2 separate regions of the Homo sapiens genome follow, and region 2 is linked to region 1. Evidence: promoter capture Hi-C in human tissues and cell types (Jung and others, 2019). All regions are on one chromosome and are shown on one strand. The core of a region is centred on a gene start or on the middle of the fragment in contact, and the rest is flanking DNA. Distances in the headings are between cores, read along the strand shown.

Region 1 (4,272 bases), core at 614-3,113:
GATTGTAAGAACCCCAAAGAGATTACATCTCTTATTTATCCTACTAGAAATTAAAACTGAGAAAATTTCAAACATGTTAATTTACTTAAAAACAATAATAAACCTATTACCAGTTAATAGAAATGTTTATGAAAATAACTACTTTAAAACAGAACAAAATTGAGAACAGTGGCAATGTTTTACATTTTAGGAAATCCCTTTAATATCTGGCTTAATATCATAGAAAACCAGTAAGTTCACATATCTTGTTCTGCCTTCAATCTGTTTTGCTATTACATGTTATTAATATATAGCCTCTGGAAAACTCCATTATATTATCATCAGAGAATGTGCATGAAAAAATAACATATTAACTATGAAAATAGTTTGATCTTGCAACCCCCCTGAAAGGTTTTCAGGGATTTCTAGGGATCTCGGGACCCCAGGGCAGGAGAGCTTGACAATACTGTGAACCTCATAAATAAGATCTTTTTGTCATAATGAAAAGTAAGCTAGATAGACTTGACTGAAGTTTCAAGGGCTATCTGATGAGAAGTGGAGGTTGTTTCATTGACATTATTCTCTAAGGTTAGGAATGGACTCTACAACATTCATTCAATTAATTCATTCAGCATACATTTATTTAGCACATATTATGTGCCATGAAGTACTCTAGATACTGAAGACATACCAGTAGACAAAACAAAATATCCTTGCCTTCATGAGACTTCTAATAAAGTAGTAAAATATATAGTGTATCAGAGAGTGGTTAAATCCTATGCAGAAAAACAATGTAAAGAGGTCTAGAGAATGCTGGAGGGATTTGCATATTTCAGTAGAATGGACAGGGAAGGCCTCTTTAAGAATGCAACATTTGAGCGAAGACCTGAAGGAGGAGAAGCCATTGGGATATCTTTTGAAAGGGCTTTTCCAGCTATTTAACAAATTAATTTCTTAACATTTGAAATTTTATTTATATGTAGTCTTTAATCAAATATCCATTGTATATGACATTAGCTGCAGGTATAAGGAAATAAGACAAGAGAACTGAGGTTTATTGAGTGCCTGCCATGTACCAGGCACTGTGCTAAGTATTATGAATGAGGTTTGGTACCTTCACTAAGATTTACAACTTAATGCAGGAGGCAAGGTGTAGACATACACTTCCTGCAGTATGGGTGTAGCAGTTCTTATGAGGAAGGAGAGTTGACTTGAAGTTGCACCGCCAGAAGTAATGCACCTGACCTACCTGAAGTCTACGCCTCCCTTTCAAGATGAATTAGGGTGCAGAGGGTGCTCTCCACTATAACAGAGGGGAAGCCAGCAAGATAATACCTGATCACACCTTTTATAGAGCACTTTGGTTAACAACATGTCTTCACAAATTAACTCACTTAACCTTCATAACAATAAGAAGCAGATGTTCTAAGAAGTGTTACTGTGTCTCTCAGAGATGGAGAAAGGCTAAGAAAGCTGGGTAGTATGACAAGGCAGTTATAAGGTAGAGCTGGACCTAAATTTAAGATAATCTGCTTCAAGCACAGTGCTTTTCCCACCGCAGTGCAGCTGTTATGAGCAGCTGCCGAAATAAAACAGCTTGATATTCTCCTGACTGAGTCCTCCCACTGACTCAAAAGGAGGGTTAGGTTGAGGCTGGGGCGGAGCTAGACCTCAAGAAGAAGCCAACAAAGTCACACACAGCGCTCCCCACCTGCGCTTGCGCAGGGGAGGAACACGCAGTCCGGAAAAACGCCGGGGATTCTGGGTCGCGCAGCCGTGGAGCTACCTCAAGGCGGAACTGGGGAGTCCAGGGCTTCGGCAGCCTGAACACCCGGTGTGAAAGGAAGGTGGCAGACGTGGAGCGGCGCGCATGCGCAGCAGCTCACTCTGCTGAAGGGCTGAGAGGCGCACCCGGGCGGCCAGCTGGGCTCGGAGCGGAACGGGGTCAGGATGGACGAGGACGTGCTAACCACCCTGAAGATCCTCATCATCGGCGAGAGTGGGGTGGGCAAGTCCAGGTGAGGCGGAGGTGCGGGTCGTGACGAGGGTGGCTGGGCTCTTTCTGCCCCGGTGGCTGCTGTCTCCTGGGCCGCGACGGGAACTGTAAACTGCAGCGGCGGGCTCGGGCCGGCTCCGCTCGCGCCCTCCTCGGCCTCTGGGCCGCGCTCTCCCGCGACGTTTGCTTTCCTCTCCCCACCCGCGCCTGCCTGGTTCCCGGCCTTTGCCAGGCCCAAGTTCTCTGGGTCGCTCTCCCTCCTGTAGCGCCGAGAAAACACCATTCCGAGGGCCGCCGCTCGGCCGGCAGGTTTGCTGCGCGGAGCTCAGGGCGTGGCGGGCTGGTTTGGGCCCGAATCCGGCCGGGGGCGCCTTGCCTCGAACCTCTCGGGGTTCAGGCTGCCTGCCACCCCGAGACCCGGGAGACATAGCTTTCCCACTTGAGGGTTTCTGTGGGGCCTTCTCTAAATACATAATGTCCTCGGGAAGTTTCGTGACGCCTTAGGTCCCATTCCTGGCCTGTTTGGGCGCAGCTTAATGTCGATTCTTTTACTTTTTTATTAGTCGGCTGTGAAAGAACTGGATCTTGTGACTGCTGGAAAATTTCGCTTTAGTGTAAGGTCCGAGTGCTTCAGCCGTGGGCCACCTTTGAAAATAAAATGTAATTGTTATTTCTCATTTTGCCACATCCTGTGGAGACAGAAGATTAGTGTTGTGCTTTCATTTTTTACTTTTTCCTTGGGGAAAATAATATTGACAGTGGAGTTGAGTATAAGGTAAGACATGGATCTAGGTGGATGTTGCTAGAGGGCTGTGATTTCATCCAGGTCTTGGAAGAGAGTTCTCCAGCTGATGTCATTCTTGCCATCTGATTATGAGTAGGTTATGTTCAAGGCCGTCCTGATCCTTAAACCACATTTGCACTCCAGGGGCTGTAATCAGTTTCATATTTTAGCTATACCTTCTGATACACGTATCTTTCAAATAATTTTTTGTATTTCATAAATTGAAATAGCCTTAATTCTACAAACTAGAATGAAAGCTCTCCTCAAATAACTTGTAAAAGTCACTTCATAAAGTCTTACTTTTTAAAAGCTTCTTCAGAATTTGAAAGCTTATGTAATATATTCTGATATTATTTACTTATTTATTTATTTATTTTTTGAGACGGAGTCTCGCTCTGTTGCCAGGCTGGAGTGCAGTGGCGCGATCTCGGGTCACTGCAACCTCCGCCTCCCGGGTTCAAGCGATTCTCCTGCTTCAGCCTCCCGAGTAGCTGGGACTACAGGCGCGCACTATCATGCCCAGCTAACTTTTGTACTGTTAGTAGAGATGGGGTTTCACCATGTTGGCCAGGATGGTCTCCATCTTTTGACCTCGTGACCCGCCCACCTCGGCCTCCCAAAGTGCTAGGATTACAGGCGTGAGCCACCAGTTTGACAACACATTTTCATAGTGTTCCTCATGTAATGTCCTCTGTGTCTACTGGAATGAAGGATTTGCACATACCAAGGAATAGAATAATGAAATACTATGAGTTAGCAAACCAGCATGATTTGTCTGTGTGTGTGTAAAAGGCATGAGTAAAATTATTTACATGATCATCTATTATTGCACATACATATTTGAGTGTTAAAAAGTTAAACGTTGTCTTAATAGGAATTTCACAGCCTTGTGATCTTTCTTTTTCTTTTCTCCTTTTTTCCTTGAGATATCGTTCTCATTTAAGTTCAGGCATATGAAATTAGTGTTTTTGAAGTCAAGAATGGTTGGTTGTCATTTCATGTAGTTCAACCCAATACATGGTTGGTTAGCACTTTTTCTAAATGTATTGCATGGATGACAAGTTAGGGTATGTTAAAATTTTCTGGAAGGTTAACTGGAGTATATAAACAAAATTCCTCTGCTCTACCCGCTGTTTTTTTGAGACAGGGTCTTATTCTGTCACCCAGACTGGAGTGCAGTGGCATGATCATAGCTCACTGCAGTCTCAATCTCCTGGGCTCAAGTGATCCTCCCACCTCAGCCTTTTGAGTAGCTGGACTATAGGCACGAGTCACCATGTCTGACTAGTGTTTTTTTATTTTTTATAGAGAGGAGGACTCACTGTGTTGCCCAGGCTGTCTCGAACTCCTGAGCTCAACAGATCCTCCTGCCTTGACCTCCCAAAGTGCTAGGAACATAAGCATGAGCCACCACAACCGGCCCTACTTCTAAAATTTTTTTCATAGATGGGATTTTCCTATGTTGCCCAGGTGGTCTCCAACACACAGGCTCAAGCCAAACTCCTGCCTCATA
Region 2 (4,377 bases), core at 1,589-4,088, 670 kb after region 1:
ACACCGACTCAGACTGTGGGTGTAAGAAATATTTGACAATGAGCGGCAGCAGAAAGTTGATTTTCCAGCTAGGACAAAATAATGTTTTTCATCAAGTTCCAAAGAAGAAAGATAAATCTAATAAAGCATGAAAGAACTCGATATCCAAAAAAAGACTTTCTGAGCTATAGAAATTACACCGAGCTATAGAAATTACACCAATTACACTAATGATTGCTTCTCGTGTATCTAATTACACATTTGCCAAAAAGTGAGTCAGACAAGCAATAAATTAGTCTTATTCTCAATGTTTTTCTTTCAGTCACTACCAGCTTTAATATTATTTATTGAAATGGTTATTTTGTTGAATGAGTGAAAGAATATGATATTTTCTCATTATTACTAATAATTACAACATAAACAGTGAGTGCTTACTATGGCCGGACTGTTCCAGGTGCTTCATGTGGACTGACCCCTTTAATCTATTCAACCATCCTATGAATACCAAGACTTTCACCCTATAGATATCACAAGTTTGGTGGACACAAAATAAAATGTTTGATCGACTTTTAAATAAAATATAAGCCGGGGGAGGAACAACAGTGGCAAAACATGCTTTCCAAAAGTAGTGGTTCCCCAGACAGGAAGGGAACTTCTGAAAGGAGAACCAGGGTGAGCAGGGCAGGAATACTAAAGCACAGGGGAGAGAAGGCTCAGACTCAATAGGTGAGTAGCGATGAAAAAAAAAAAAAAGACAAAAAGAATTTGAAGGAAAAGAGACAAGCAGATCCATTATTACAGATCTACCATTACTACGGATTATCCATTATCACGGATCTACCCACTCAACAATGTACTTAGAGGTCCCAGACTGAACAATAAGGCAAACATAAATAGATGGATAAAGAATTGTCATGGAAGAAATAAAATTGGCATTATTAACAAACAAAAGAATCTACAGATAAAGGAATAAATGTTCTAAGTGCACAATACTGCAGTAACATGAGGCATTTCTATGTATCAGCTCTGCTTTGCCTTCCACTGTAAGTGGAAGCGTCCTGAGACCCTCATCAAGAGCAGATGTTGGCACCATGCTTCTTGTACAGTCTGCAGAACTGTGAGCCAAATAAATTTTTCTTTATAAATTACCCATCCTCAACTATTCCTTTGTAGCAACACAAAACAAAGATAACCCGCAACCCCATTCTTAAGTAGCAAATATTTAAAAATCATTTTCTCAACACCTAGGAAAAACACTAGTGAAAGATATGCAAGATCTATAAGAGAAAATTAGAAAGTGTTACTGGGAGAAACTGAAAACCTAACTAAATAGAAAGAGTCACCACACTTGTGAATTATAAGACTCAGTATTGTAAAGATATTCATTCTCACCAAATTAAACTATGAATTCAATGCAATAATCATCAAAATGCCAACAGATTTTTCTGCAAATAAGACACTGTGGTACTGACATAGCGACAGAACAACAGAAAAGAGCAGACGGTCCAGAAACAGTCCCATACGAAACATATGAAGAAGTACTCAACCTCATTAGTCATCTGGGGATCCAAATTTAAAACCAATGAGATACCACTACAGCCCCCAAAGTGGCTTCAAAAACAAAAAGCAAAGACAAGCCCCACCATACCAAGGGCTAGCAAGAATGTGTGTGTGGAACAGCAACGACTGTCATACACTGATCGTGGCAATACAAACCGCAACAATACCCAATTACCCAGTGCTATGGTTTGGATATGGGGAGCCTTTTGGCCCCACTAAGTCTCATGTTGAAATGTTGGAGGTGGGGCCTGTTGGGAGGTGTGTGGGTCATGCGGACAGATCCCTCGTGAATGGTTGGTGCCATTCTCTAGAGAGTGAGTTCTCACTCTTAGCTCCCATGAAAGCTGGTTAATGAAAGGAGCCTGACACCTCTCCTCTCTCTTTCTTGCTCCTTCTCTCACCATAGGACACGCATATGCCAGCTCCGCTTTGCCTTCCACTGAAAGTGGAAGCGTCCTGAGACCCTCATCAAGAGCAGATGTTGGCACCATGCTTCTTGTACGGTCTGCAGAACTGTGAGCCAAACAAATTTTTCTTTATAAATTACTCACCCTCGACTATTCCTTTGTAGCAACACAAAACAAAGATACCCCGCAACTCCATTCTTACATCATACCTTAAGAAAATACATATACAAAGAGTTGAATGAAAATCCTATTTCCCAACATTTCCATTCCTTAGTATATACCCAACAGAAACACATACACATTCAGGCAAAGACCTGTACAGGACTGCTAACAGCAGTGGCATTACCAAAGTGGTCAAAAATCAGAAATGGTAAAAATGTCCATCGACAGTTGAATAGATAAATTGTTCTATGCTTACAGAATAGAATACTGTTTGGTAACAAAAATGAATTAATCTAGTAACAACATAAATGAATCATATAATTTGAGCAAGAGAAGAAAGACACAAACAAAATACATCCTGCATGGTTCCATTTAAAGAAACTTCCAAGAACATGGCTGAGCATGGTGGCTCATGCCATCCCAGCACTTTGGGAGGCCGAGGTGGGCGGATCACTTGAGGTCAGGAGTTTGAGACCAGCCTGGTTTACATGGCAAAACCCCATCTCTACTAAAAATCCATAAATCAGTTGGGCGTGGTGATGCGCACCTATAGTCCCAGCTACCTGGGAGTCTGAGGCATGAGAATCACTTGAACCCAGGGGGCAGAGGGTGCAGTGAGCTGAGATTGCATCATTGCACTCCAGCCTGGGTAACAGAGTGAGATGTCGTCTCAAAAAAAAAAAGGAAAAAAAGAAACTTCCAAGAACAGGCAAACCACCCATAAACTTTAAAGTGAGCCGAGTGATTTACTTAGGAAGTAGAGTTTGAAGTAAAGGAGCAAGAAGATGGGGGAGAGGAGGGTACATTTTGGGGTTCTGCAGGAATTTTTTTAAAATGCCATGAAATAAAAGTATGTGAACATACATGATTAAAAGAACATACTGAATATCTGGGAAAACTGATACTAAACAGTCAACACTGAGAAATATTTTTTAAGAATCAGAAATTTTAAAAAACATTCTTTAAACATCAAGACAAAAACACTTATAAAGGAAAGAAAGTTATATTGACACCATACTTACGAACACTTTATACCAGAAGCTGAAGAAGTATGATACTTAAGATATTCAAAACAAGAAGCTATGAACCAAGGATTTTAACTTTAGACAAACTGATCTTCAACTATTAATGTAAAGACCACAAGAAAAACTTGTAAGAGCTCAGGGAAAATTGCTCCCTGAGCCCTCTCCATGGGAGAGCAACTAGGGGATGAATTTCTGAAATAATCAGAGAAGCTTTTGGATAAGAAATGATAGTTACCATCAATATACTGTATTTAACTAAAGTTAAACAATGGGGCAGAGTAAAAAGTAGAATGCAGCTTTTTTAGAATCTAGCAATGCAGGTCAAATACAACTACCAAAAATTAGGAAGAGAAGGGAAATAATATATGTAAAGTAAATAAGTTCATTGATTACCTTTAATTGGGAGTTTTAAAAAAGTATATAGTAGTTTAAATTAGAAGTTGGGAAGAGCAGGGTAAAGGAATTCCTATTGGTCACTGTTAGGAACCAATACAGTATTTAACAAGAGATTCTAGAATTGAGAATCACTTGAACCCAGGGGGCAGAGGGTGCAGTGAGCTGAGATTGCATCACTGCAATTCTCAATTCTAGAAATCTACCTTAAAATATACAGGGGCAGGAAATGTGTAAAATAAGCCTGAGAGACCCTGTCAGGCCAAAAAGCAAAGAAGCAATCAAAGCCCAGTGCAGTTGGGTCAAAAACAAAACAAAACAAAACAAAACAAAACAAAACACAGGAGTCAACTTGAAGGCACTCCCAATGGCCAAAGCTGGGGTCATTTTAGCATCAAAAAGAATAATAATTGCACTGGCTGGGCATGGTGGCTCACGCCTGTATCCCCAGCACTTTGGGAGGCTGAGGTGGGTGGATCACAAGGCCAGGAGTTTGAGACCAGCCTGACCAACATGGTGAAACCCATCTCTATTAAAAATAAAAATAAAAAATTAGCCAGGTGTCATGGCACATGCCTGTAATCCCAGCTACTAGGGAGGCTGAGGCAGGAGAATTGCTGGAACTCAGGAGGCAAAGGTTGCAGTGAGCTGAGATTGTGCAACTGCACTCCAGCCTGAGCAACAGAGCAAGACTCTGTCTAAAAAAAAAGAAACCATCATTCTGAGCAAACTTTCGCAAGGATAGAAAACCAAACACCACATGTTCTCACTCATAGGTGGGAATTGAACAATGAGAACACTTGGACACAGGACGGGGAACATCACACAGCGGAGCCTGTCGTGGGGTGGGG

The links. Contacts are between HindIII fragments. The study calls those that stand out against the background at their distance.
Region 2: a fragment that was not itself captured here is called in contact with the fragment with the promoter of RAB18 in region 1 in 1 of the 25 tissues and cell types used here (dorsolateral prefrontal cortex).

The regions. Positions count from the first base shown.
Region 1 is chr10:27,502,441-27,506,712 of GRCh38, forward strand. It overlaps RAB18 (RAB18, member RAS oncogene family), which reads left to right and starts at 1,864. Exons shown (of 7, transcript NM_021252.5): 1 at 1,864-1,997. The coding sequence starts at 1,930. It overlaps LOC124902399 (a long non-coding RNA gene), which reads left to right and starts at 2,005. Exons shown (of 2, transcript XR_007062097.1): 1 at 2,005-2,284; 2 at 2,539-2,652. RefSeq lists enhancers at 1,560-1,829, 1,940-1,999. The HindIII fragment of the contact is 16,305 bases long and covers 1-4,272 here.
Region 2 is chr10:28,172,510-28,176,886 of GRCh38, forward strand. The region is part of intron 3 of MPP7 (MAGUK p55 scaffold protein 7); the gene reads right to left. Among named protein-coding and RNA genes, the nearest start is that of SNORD130, 100 kb to the left of the region's middle. The HindIII fragment of the contact is 6,242 bases long and covers 1-4,377 here.